Linked DNA regions of Homo sapiens: region 1 is linked to region 2. Evidence: promoter capture Hi-C in 16 types of primary human blood cells and fetal thymus (Javierre and others, 2016). All regions are on one chromosome and are shown on one strand. Each heading gives the region's core, a stretch centred on a gene start or on the middle of the fragment in contact. The rest is flanking DNA. Distances are from core to core; before and after follow the strand shown.

Region 1 (6,074 bases), core at 3,395-5,894, 140 kb after region 2:
AGCCAGGCACTGTGGCTCACTCCTGTAATCCCAGCACTTTGGCAGGCCAAGGTGGGTGGATCGCTTGAGGTCAGGAGTTCAAGAGCAGCCTGGGTAATATGGTGAAACCCACCTGGGCAATATGGTGAAACCCCATCGCTACCCAAAATACAAAAAGTTAGCCAGGCATGACGGACATGCCGATGGTCCCAGCTTGTCAGGGGCTGACGCATGAGAATCACTTAAGCCCGGGAGGTGGAGGCTGCAGTGAGCCGAGATCACCCCACTGCATTTCAGACTGGGTGACAGAGTGAGATGCTGTGTCCAAAATAAAAATAAAAAGCTAAAAAAAAAAATGCTGAAATGAGCTCTCTCAGAAAGGTTTCTTTGTTCAAGTAGAAAGTATTGATGATCAGTGACATCAACTGGACAGTTTCTGCTTGAAAGGCAAACATCTCAACCTCTTCTTCCTCCATCGGTTGGTTTTGGGTCTGGGTTTCCTCAGGCAGCTTGGCTAAGGGACCACAGGGCTCTGCAGTATAGCAGCACCAGGATGCTAAAGCATGCAGGCCTCTTGAATTTCTATACGAATTTTAGAATCAGCTTGTCAATTTCTGCAAAAAAAAAAAAAAAAAAAAAAAAGACAGCCAAGATTCTGATACAGATTGCATTGAATCTGTAGATCAATTTGGGGAGTAATGGCATCTTCAGAGGATTTAAGCTTTCCAAATCTTAAACATGGTATATCTTATCTTTCCATTTATTTAGATCTTCTTTAATTTTTTTCAACAGTGTTTTTTAGTTTTCAGTATACAAGTGTTGCACTTCTTTTGTGAAGTTTATCCCTAAATGCCTTATTTTTTTAAAAATGATTCTTAATTTTATTTTCAGAATGTTTATTGCTAGTATATATAAATACAATACTTTTGGTATGTTGATCTTGTGTCCTGTAACCTTGCTGAACTCATTTATTAGTTCTGGTAGATTGTTAGTGAATTCCTTGGGATTTTCTATTTACAGGATCATATCATCTGCAAACAGAGATTGCTTTACTTTTTCCTTTCAATCTGGATGCCTTTTTATTTATTTTTCTTTTTTTCTTTTAGACTGTTCGCTCTGTCGCCCAGGCTGGAGTGCAGTGGTGAGATCTTGGCTCACCGCAACCTCCACTTTCTGTGTTAAAGCGATTCTTCCGCCTCAGTCTCCCAAATAGCTGGGATTACAGGTGCCCATCACCATGCTTGGCTAATTTTTGTATTTTTAGTAGAGATGGGGTTTCACCATGTTGGCCAGGCTGTTCTCCACTTCCTAACTTCAAGTGATCCACCCACCTTGGCCTCCCAAAGTTCTGGGAGACATGAGCCACCGCACCCGGCCTGCCCTGAATAATGTTAAGTACAATGTTGTATAGAGGTGGAGAGAATAAATATTCTTGTGTTGTTCCCACTTTTAGGGGGAAAAGATTCAATTTTTTGCCATTTGGTATGATGTTAGCTGTAGATTTTTCATAGATGCCCTTTAACAGATTGAGGAAGTTATTTTTATTTTTAGTTTGTTGAGTGTTATTTTTTAATCATAAAAGGTTTTGGATTTTGTCAAATGCTTTTTCTGCAGCTATTAAAATGATCATGTGGGTTTTGTTCTCTTAATATAGTGTATTACATTAATTGATTTTCTGATATTATACCAATCTTGTATTCTTGGGATGAGTTCCACTTGTTCATTGCATATAATCCTTTTTATATGTTGCTGGATTCAGTTTGCTAGTATTTTTTTTTTTTTTTTTGAGACAGTCTCACTCTGTTGTCCAGGCTGGAGTGCAGTGGTGCAATCTCAGCTCACTGTAACGTCTGTCTCCTGGGTTCAAGTATTTCTCCTGCCTCAGCCTCCCAAGTAGCTGGGATTACAGGTGCACGCCACCATGCCTGGCTAATTTTTTTTGTATTAATAGAAATGGGGTTTTGCCATGTTGGCCAGGCTGGTCTCGAACTCCTGACCTCAGGTGATCCACCGGCCCTGGTCTCCCAGTGTGCTGGGATTATAGGCTTGAGCCACTGTGCCCGGTCTGTTTGCTAGTATTTTGTTGAGGATTTTTACGTCTATATTCATATGAGATATTGGTCTGTAGTTTTTTTGTTTTTAAATATAACATCTTTGTCTGGTTTCAGTATCTGGATAATAATACTGGCCTCATAGAATGAGTTGCAAAATGTTTCCTCTTCTTTTAATTTCTGAAAGAGACCGTGTAGAATTGGTATTAATTCTTCTTTAAGTATTTGATAAAATTTACCAGTGAAGCTGTCAATGCCTATGGGAAGCTGTTTCAAATTATTAGAATCAACTTAAGTTTATTTAACATTTTATCATGACTAGTGTGAAGTTATGCACCTTAATTTTTTTAATTGAGAGATTCCTTCTCTCTCTCTATAAACTTGTAATTTATGAAAAATGAAAAAACCCATGTTTTGAAAAAGGTAACATTTAATGGCTCATATTAAAACTGTGATTATTCAGCAAGGTAATAGTTTGAGAGTGAAAGGAATTTCTATATACTTTTAGATCTCTCTTAAGCATACCAAGCATAATTTGACCTAGTTGGTCAAATTATGAGCTTTCCCCATAATCTAGAAGACAACTTTGTCTACCATTTAGTCAAGAAACTAGAGTCAGGAAGAATGATGATATGATGCAGGGGAAAATCTCACCCCTGACATTGTAGGGGGTTTGGGGAAAATAAAGGAGTGAAAAGAGGTAAGAGAGTGGAAAGAAGAATGATGGTCAGGTCTGTGCCTTTGTTTCCTCTCTTTGGGTTCCAATTGAATGATATGGACCAGTATTGAGGAAAAAGCTTGTCTCTCTTTGAGGCTTGTGTAAAGATCAGAGCTTTACAGTCCTCCGAAGGAGTCCAGCAGATAGACTTCAAATAGAAACCTGTGAACTTGGGGAAGAGCTGCCTCTAACTGTTTGCTGCTGTGGTCATTGGACAGCCTGACTGGTTCATGTTGGAAGGCAGGGGAAATTGAATGAATACGTTCAATTATTTCCATTCTCTGCACATGGGAGAGGATTGCTACTTGTTCCTGGATTGACCTGGGAATTGAGGCATGCCCTCCATGTGCTTCAGCAGAATGACAGTGTTTCATCACTGGTTCATATAAGCAGCCTGGCCCAGGCCGCCACAGTTAAGTTGGTTTGCTCTTCTTCGAAAGAACCTTACAGTGTGACCTATACAGGTACTGAGAGGACACAAAATTACGAGCAGGCAACGAAAACAACGGGGCCAGGCGCAGTGGCTCACACCTGTAATCCCAGCATTTTGGGATCCCGAGGCGGGTGGATCACTGGAGGCTAAAGTTCGAGACCAGCCTGGCCAACATGGTGAATCCCCGTCTCTACTAAAAAAATGCAAAATTAGCCAGGTGTGGTGGCACATGCCTGTAATCCCAGCTACTTGGGAGGCTGAGGCACGAGAATCGCTCGAACCCAGGAGGCGGAGGTTGCAGTGAACTGAGATCGCACCACTGCACTCCAGCCTGGGCAACAGATACTCTGTCTCAAAAGGAAAAAAAAAAAAAGCCTACTGATTGTCAATCACATATACAAAATACCTTCACAGCAACATCTAAACCAGTGTTTGACCAGACGACTGGGCGCCACAGTCTAGCCAAATTGACATTTAAAATTAACCATGTCAGGCCGGGCACAGTAGCTCACACCTGTAATCCCAGCACTTAGGGAGGTTGAGATGGGCGGATCACCTGAGAGGTCAAGAGTTCGAGACCAGCCTGGCTAACATGGTGAAACCCCTTCTCTACTAAAAATACAAAAATTAGCCAAGCACGTTGGCAGGCGCCTGTAATCCCAGCTACTTGGTTGGCTGAGGCAGGAGAATCTTTTGAACCTGGGAGAATCTTTGGAATTTTTTGAACCTCACTGGGTTGCAGTGAGCCGAGATCATGCCACTACACTCCAGCCTGAGAGACAGAGCAAGACTGCATCTCAATAAATAAAATAAAATAAAATAAAATAAAATAAAATAAAATAAATAAACCATGTCAATGACCAATATGAATATTGAGGACAAGGGCTCCTTCTGAAGTAGGATTAAGAAAGGAGAGAAGATAATTTCTAGGACATGTGATTAGAACACTTAAAAGACTTCATGAGGCTGGGCATGGTGGCTCATGCCTGTAATCCCAGCACTTTGGGAAACCGAGGTGGGTGGATCACCTGAGGTCAGCAGTTCAAGACCAGCTTGGCCAACATGGTGAAACCCCATCTCTACTAAAAATACAAAATTAGCCGGGTACGGTGGCATGCACCTGTAATCCCAGCTACTTGGGAGGCTGAGGCAGGAGAATCATTTGAACCCGGGAGGTGGAGGTTGCAGTGAGCCAAGATCGTGCCACTGCACTCCAGCCTGGGCAACAGAACAAGATTCCGTCTCAAAAAAATAAAAAAAGACTTTATGAAATTAAAAATTATTTTTAATTAAAACATTCAGTAGATGAGCTGAGAATAGAAATGGTCACTCCTGAAAACTGAATTGTTGTCTGAAAGATTGGTCACAACACAAAGCCAAGCCACAAAAAATGGAAGCTGGAAGAGAAAAAGACAGTTTAGAAAACAGATCCATAGGACCTAACTTGTGAATAGCACAAATGCCTGAACAGCGCTGGGTACGGTGGCTCATGTCTGTAATCCCAGCACTTTGGGAGGCCGAGGCGGGTAGATCACGAGGTCAAGAGATCAAGACCATCCTGGCCAACATGGTGAAACCCCATCTCTACTAAAAATACAAAAATTAGACGGGCATGGTGGCGTGCGCCTGTAGTCCCAGCTACTTGGGAGGCTGAGGCAGGAGAATCGCTTGAACCGAGGAGGTGGAGGTTGCAGTGAGCTGAGATCACGCCATTGTACTCCAGCCTGGTGACAGAGCGAGACTCCATCTCAAAAAAAAAAAAAAAAGAAAAAAAAAAAGAAATGCCTGAACAGAAAAAGAACAGATGGAAGAGAGTAAGTAGAGTGTTACTTATATCCTAGAAAAAATTCCCCAAACAGAAGAAAGATTTAAATATTCACATTGAAAAAGGTCACTGAGACACAGAAAGGATTAGTGAAAACACACATTTGACATAACCTAGTGAAATTCAAGCGTCTGTAATCGCCAATGGGGTCACCTTGCCTGCTGCCTAGACAGAGCCAACTCATCAAGACAGGGAAATTGCAATAGAGGAAGAGTAATTCATGCAGAGCCTGCTGTGCGGGACACTGGAATTTTATCAGCCTCCCTGAGCATTCGGGGATCAGAGTTTTTAAGGACAACTTGGTGGGTTGGGGGAAGCCAGTGAGCCAGGAGTGCCGATTGGTCAGATCAGAGATGAAATCATGTGAAGTTGAAGCTGTCCTCTTGTGCTGAGTCAGTTCCTGGGTCGGGGCCACAAGATCAGATGAGTCAGTTTATCGATCTTGGTGGCCAGCTGATTCATTAAGTGCAGGGTCTGCAAAATACCTTAAGCACTGATCTTAGGAGCAGTTTAGGGAGGGTCAGAATTTTGTAGCCTCCACCTGCATGACTCCTAAACCATAATTTCTAATCTTGTGGCTAGTTCGTTAGTCCTATAAAGGCAGTCTAGTCCCCAGGCAAGAAGGAGGTTTGTTTTGGGAAAGGGCTGTTATCGTTTTTATTTTATTTTATTTTATTTTATTTATTTTTTAATTTTAATTTTTTTAAAATTTTTGTTTATTTATTTATTTTTGAGACGGAGTCTCCCTCTATTGCCCAGGCTGGAGTGCAGTGGCACAATCTTGGCTCACTGCAACCTCTGCCTCCTGGGTTCAAGTGATTCTCCTGCCTCAGCCTCCCAAGTAGCTGGGACCACAGGTATGTGCCACCATGCCCCGCTAGCTTTTGTATTTTTAGTACAGATGGAGTTTCACCATATTGGCCAGGCTGGTCTATTATTTTTATTTTTATACAGGCATGAAACGCTGTGCCCAGACCATACTGTACCTTTTGATATTTGTACCTTGTATGTATATTACTCTTCCAAAAATGAATCAAGAATTAATGAAAGAGATGTGCGAAAATATAC
Region 2 (5,905 bases), core at 2,387-4,886:
AAAAGAGACTGTGTAGCCTGCAAAGCCTAAAAAATTTACTTGTTTGGCCATTTTCAAACAAAGTTTACAGACCCCTAACCTGGAGTAAGTCTCTTAGTACTTTTGACTTGTCTTCAGGGGTTGTCATAAGGATTAAGTAAGTTAGAAAGGGCCCAGCACATTCTCTGGCTCTTATCAGGCACTCAACTTAAGTCTGTTGAGGTGGAATGTAACGTAGAGTATTTCCCAAGTTGTGGGTCCTGTTCTTACATCTTGGGGATTCTAGAAATTCCCCTTTTGATTTTTAGACTTCTTGCCCCTCCTATCCAGAAAAGGATAGTTCCCAGTTAAGCAGATTTTTTTTAAAGCATCAGTTTGGTGAAAAACCAGTCAAGCAGATTTTAAGGCAGTGTTACTCTGCCAATCACCAGCATAAGAATCTGCTGTGAAGCTTGTTGAACATACAGATTCCTGAGACCCACATTAGACCATCCCTGGAATTAGAATCTCACAGTGCAGTCTAGTTCCCCAGGTAATTTTGATACACACTAAAGCTTGAGAAAACAGATCTAAGGTAAATCTATAAATAAGTGCAATGGTTTAAAATCACAGATTCAAGAAAGTGTTTACTTGTGGGGAGAAGGGGTTTTAGGAGGACCACACAGAGAACCTTGAATATACTTTTCATTTTGCCAGGCATTGTTCTAGGTATCCTTCATGCTCATTTAATCAACTTAAAGCCCAATTAATAAATATGCTTATGTTTTTAAGGTTGAGAAAATGGAAGCACAGAAATTCAAGTATTTTGTCCAGGATTACACAGCCAGTATAAGCCGAGCCAAGATTCCAACATAATTCACTGCCTCTGGAGTCCAAGGTGGTTTTTTGTTTGTTTGTTTTTTGTTTTGCTTTGTTTTGAGACAGGGTCTCATTCTGTCGCCTAGGCTGGAGCCCATTGGAGCCATCACAGCTCACTGCAGCCTGGATCTCCTGGCTCAAACGATCCTCCTGCCTCAGCCTCTTGAGTAACTCGGACTATGGGCACAGGCCACCATGCCCAGCTAAGTTTTAATTTTTTTTTTTTTTGAGACAGGGTCTTACTCTGTCACCCAGGCTGGAGTGGAGTGGTGCAATCTCAGCTCACTGCAACCTCCACCTCCTGGGCTCAAGTGATTCTCCTGCCTCAGCCTCCCAAGTACCTGGGATTACAGGCACGTGCCACCACACCTGGCTGATTTTTGTATTTTTAGTAGAGACGGGGTTTCACCATGTTGGCCAGGCTTGTCTTGAACTCCTGACCTCAAATGATCCACCCGCCTTGGTCTCCCAAAGTGTTGTGATTACAAGCATAAGCCACTGCTCTGGCCTAAATTTTTTGTAGAGATGGGATCTCACTATGTTGCCCAGGCTGGTCTTGAGCTCCTGCGATCAAGTGATCCTTCCACCTTGGCCTCCCAAAGTGCTGGGATTATGAGCATGAATCATGAGGCCAGCCCAGAGTCCAAGTTCTTTTCTTTTTTTTTTTTTTTTTTTGAGACAGAGTTTTGCTCTTCTTGCACAGGCTGGAGTGCAATGGCATGATCTTGGCTCACCACAACCTCCGCCTCCCTGGTTCAAGCGATTTTCCTGCCTCAGCCTCCCAAGTAGTTGGGATTATAGGCATGCGCCACCACACCCGACTAATTTTTTGTATTTTTAGTAGAGATGGGGTTTCTCCATGTTGGTCAGGCTGATCTCGAACTCCCGACCTCAGGTGATCCGCCCGCCTTGGCCTCCCAAAGTGCTGGGATTAATGGCGTGAGCCACCGCGCCCAGCCAAGTTATTAACCACTAAATTATACTTTTTTTTCTATCCCTAGTAATGTTCTATTTCTCAAACTGAGTGGAATAGACACACACATTAGATTTGTTATTTATACCTTACATATATATTACATATACCTTTTTTATTTATTAAAGACTTCACTTAAACATACAAAGGCTTTTACAAAGAGCAAAGTAAAAACGACAATTGGAAGAAAATCTGTTGCTCATTCAAACTTTACTAGCGCCTCCAAGGCTGACACTAGGAGAGAACCTCAAGAGGTCAGCCGAACACCCCAGAGCCCTACCTTTCCTCCAGCACGTCTCCCTTTGGGGAATCGTATCACCCTGGGCGGCAATCTCCCCTCCACCCCTAGAGGGTGCTGTTCTCACTCTCTAAGGCATAGGACCAAGTTTCAGACAGGACTCTCTCTAGGTGACTCTGGCTCCCAGTGCCCAGGGGCAAAAAGAAAAGCGCTGGGCATTATTCTCGAGGTGCCTGCGCGTGCCGCCTCCGATGTGAACTCGCAGTACCATTTCTAGAACTGAATCTAAAGCTCAGAACGGGTTCATGACTTGTCCTAAGTTTTACAAGTCAATTAGCGCTAGGACTTGATCTCGGTCCTCTGAGCAATCCGGTCCCCAAGGCTGCCTGCCTCCCGAGGGTCCGGACAGGGTCTTGGGTACCCCCAACGCTCAAACTCTGAGGGACTGTCTTTCTCCAGAGGGCCCCGGGACCAACAATCTCTTACTCCTGTTAGCCTTGACTAAATACAGCCGGGACTCTGAAGGAGCTGGATCTCGCGTCCCAACGCAGGCGTCCTCCAAGAGGGATAGACAGGCGGGAGGAAAGCGGACCAGGCCAAGCCCATGCGGCGCCGGTCCTGCCAGCTCTACCTGGCGGGGCCGCGCCGGGATTACCCACCTAGCACAAGGATACGGTCCTCGGGCCGCAGCTCCGGCTCTAGGAGGGCACGGAAGGAGGAGAAGTCCCCGAACCAATCGTAGGGGGCAGAATCGGCTGCGCCTTGGTAGCGCTGATCCCAGTACTCGACTTCGCGGTACCCGCAGTTCCGCTCCGGTAACTCCGGAGGCGCCCTACCTGCCCCTGGAGAGGCCATGCTCTCAACCGCCGGGCAGCCAGAGCCGCCGGCCCTTCAGCCAATACGGAAGGCAGGATGCAGAAGGCGGGGCGCTGGTGTCTCCGCCCACCACCTGCAGTTGCTCAACACAAACACGTGGAACTTCCGTCCTTTACTAAGCGCTCTTCGAAGAATCCTCCGGCTGGGAAAACTATCGTCCAGACCCTGAATCCTCCGGCTGTACTGCCAAGTCATTTCCTAGGGCCGCACTCAAGGTGTCAGACTCACGTGGGCTCATCACTGCGTCCTCTCATATTTTCAATATGAATGACTTTTATCAGGAAATCTGAAAATTAGTGAAAGGTTCATTTTTCTCAGCATCCGGAAGGCTCGAAGGGCAGGCAGGAGGGGCGCGAACAGGGGCTTTGCCCTCCTGGAGAGACAGCATGAACACAGATGTTCCCAGCGCAGGCGAAGGAGAATGCTGGCTTCAGCGGTTGTGGGGGAGGTAGGCAGGAATGTTGCTTTTCTGGACATTCGTTCTAAATTAGCGCCTGTGTACCCAGGGCTGGGTATAAACTGAGGAGTAAGACATTGTCCCTGCTCCTATGGAGCGTGGAGTGCATCAGAGGAGACAAATGCAGAAAAATTACATTTTAGTGGAGTAAATGAAGACTGGCTACTCGGATCGGCGCTTAGCCTGGTGGGACGCCAGGCACGGGAAGCGGAACCTAAGTGTCGAAGGTTCGGGTTTCCGGGGGTGGTGGGCCCACACAAGCGGCGCACCGTTAAGATGGCGGCTGGGCTGCGGAAACGCGGCCGGTCCGGTTCCGCGGCCCAGGCAGAGGGACTCTGCAAGCAATGGCTGCAGCGCGCCTGGCAAGAGCGGCGCCTGCTGCTGCGGGAGCCGCGCTACACGCTGCTGGTGGCCGCCTGCCTCTGCCTGGCGGAGGTGGGCATCACCTTCTGGGTCATTCACAGGGTGGCATGTGAGTGCGCCGAGGGGGAGGGGAGGGGAGGGAGGGAGACCTGAACCCGCGACCCAAACTGGATCTCAGACCTGGAACTCCAAACCAGACTCTGTATCCACTCACTCGTCAATTGCGAACCCATCCATATCCCTTACCTGAGCGCCAAGCCTGCTCTACAGAAAACCGGATCTTAATCTGCCCGCATGGCAGAGGTGGATACCCTAGAGATTGGCCTTCTGCACTGAACTTACAGCCTGCAAACCAGCTTAGAAGTCAGATTTGAGCCAAAATTGTTGTACTGCTGCTGCTGCTGCTTTTCTCTGTGGCTTTGGACACCTCAGGTCTCCTCCTGGATCTCAGCTTTTTCCATGTGTTCAGTTCTGTGATCTTTGAACGTCCCTTCTCAATGATGGCATCTTGTGACCACTTGAGTCCATTAGGCATTATTGGCTACTCCTTTCCAGGCTGAAACTATACTCTAGGCTTAAGGCACTTGGCTTTCTTGCTAAAGACTCTTAATTCAACAAATATTTATTTAGTGCTTATTATATGCCTAGCATTATGCTGGTTACCAGAGAGAGGTACAGTGGTGAATAAGAGATGCATTTCTGCCGGGCGCGGTGGCTCACGCCTGTAATCCCAGCACTTTGGGAGGCCGAGGCGGGCGGATCACGAGGTCAGGAGATCGAGGCCATCCTGGCTAACACGGTGAAACCCCGTCTCTACTGAAAAAAAAAAAAAAAAAAGAATTTAGCCGGGCATGGTGGCGGGCGCCTGTAGTCCCAGCTACTCGGGAGGCTGAGGCAGGAGAATGGCGTGAACCCGGGAGGCAGAGCTTTCAGTGAGCCGAGATCACGCCACTGCACTCCAGCCTGGGCGACAGAGCAAGACTCCGTCTCAAAAAAAAAAAAAGAAAAAGGATGCATTTCTAACTCGGGCCTGGACAGTAAGTTAGCAGGCAATTATAATGCATCATAATCATGGTAGTAGTAACACAGGATACCATAAAGGGCATAGGAAGTCACTTAAACCAGGTTGGAGGAGTCAGCAAAGGCTTCATAGAGCCACCCTTGGAAGGTAGGAATTAGCTATTTAAGGAAAGAAGAAAAAGGTGAGGGGAAGGAGTGCTGTGGACAGAGGATCCTCTATTAAAAATCTCCAGCTAGGCTGGGCGCAGCGGCACACGCCTGTAATCCCAGCACTTTGGTAGGCCTAGGCGGGTGGATCTCCTGAGGTCAGGAATTTGAGACCAGCCTGGCCAACATGATGAAATCCTGTCTCTACTAAAAATACAAAAATTAGCTGGGCGTGGTGGCATATGCCTGTAATCCCAGCTACTCGGGAGGTTGAGACAGGAGAATTGCTTGAACCCGGGAGGTGGAGGTTGCAGTGAGCCGAGATTGCGCCACTGTACTCCAGCCTGGGTGACAGAGCAAGCTCCGTGTCAAAAAAAAAAAAAATTCAGTTAGACTGGGCACGGTGGCTCATGCCTGTAATCCCAGCACTTTGGGAGGCTGAGGTGGGCGGATCACTTGGGGGCAGGAGTTAAAGACCAGCCTGGCTGGGCACGGTGGCTTATGCCTGTAATTCTAGCACTTTGGGAGCCCGAGGCGGGCAGATCACCTGAGGTCAGGAGTTCAACACCAGCCTGGCCAATATGTTGACACCCTGTCTCTACTAAAATAGAAAAATTAGCTGGGCATGATGGCAAGTGCCTGTAATCCCAGCTACTTGGGAGGCTGAGATGGGAAAATGGCTCGAACCGGGGAGATGGTGGTTGCAGTGAGCTGAGATCGCACCACTGCACTCCAGCCTGGGTGGCTGAGCGAGACCCTGTCTCAAAAGAAAAACAAACAAACAAACCAGCCTGGCCAACACGGTGAAACCCCATCTCTACTAAAAATACAAAACTTAAAAAATTAGCCAAGCATGGTGGCACACACCTGTAGTCCCAGCTACTCGGGAGACTGAGGCAGGAGAATCACTTGAACCCGGGAGGCGGAGGTTGCAGTGAGCTGAGATCGTACCACTGCACTCCAGTCTGGGTGACAGAGTGAGACTCTGTCAAAA

What was found. The method cuts DNA at HindIII sites, captures the fragments that hold promoters and counts their contacts. A CHiCAGO score of 5 or more calls a contact.
Region 1: a contact is called between a fragment that was not itself captured here and the fragment with the promoter of ALG3 in region 2, in 2 of 17 cell types (M1 macrophages and endothelial precursors). The highest score is 6.2, in M1 macrophages.

The regions. Positions count from the first base shown.
Region 1 is chr3:184,109,766-184,115,839 of GRCh38, reverse strand. No RefSeq gene overlaps it. Among named protein-coding and RNA genes, the nearest start is that of HTR3E-AS1, 7.6 kb to the right of the region's middle. The HindIII fragment of the contact is 3,629 bases long and covers 2,830-6,074 here.
Region 2 is chr3:184,246,693-184,252,597 of GRCh38, reverse strand. ALG3 (ALG3 alpha-1,3- mannosyltransferase) reads left to right here and starts at 3,636. Exons shown (of 9, transcript NM_005787.6): 1 at 3,636-3,853. The coding sequence starts at 3,658. It overlaps EEF1AKMT4-ECE2 (EEF1AKMT4-ECE2 readthrough), which reads right to left and starts at 2,926. Exons shown (of 19, transcript NM_014693.4): 1 at 2,708-2,926. The coding sequence starts at 2,903. EEF1AKMT4 (EEF1A lysine methyltransferase 4) reads right to left here and starts at 2,926. Exons shown (of 3, transcript NM_032331.4): 1 at 2,708-2,926. The coding sequence starts at 2,903. RefSeq lists enhancers at 3,040-3,149, 3,180-3,239, 3,320-3,369, 3,568-4,311, 4,312-5,055. The HindIII fragment of the contact is 5,512 bases long and covers 536-5,905 here.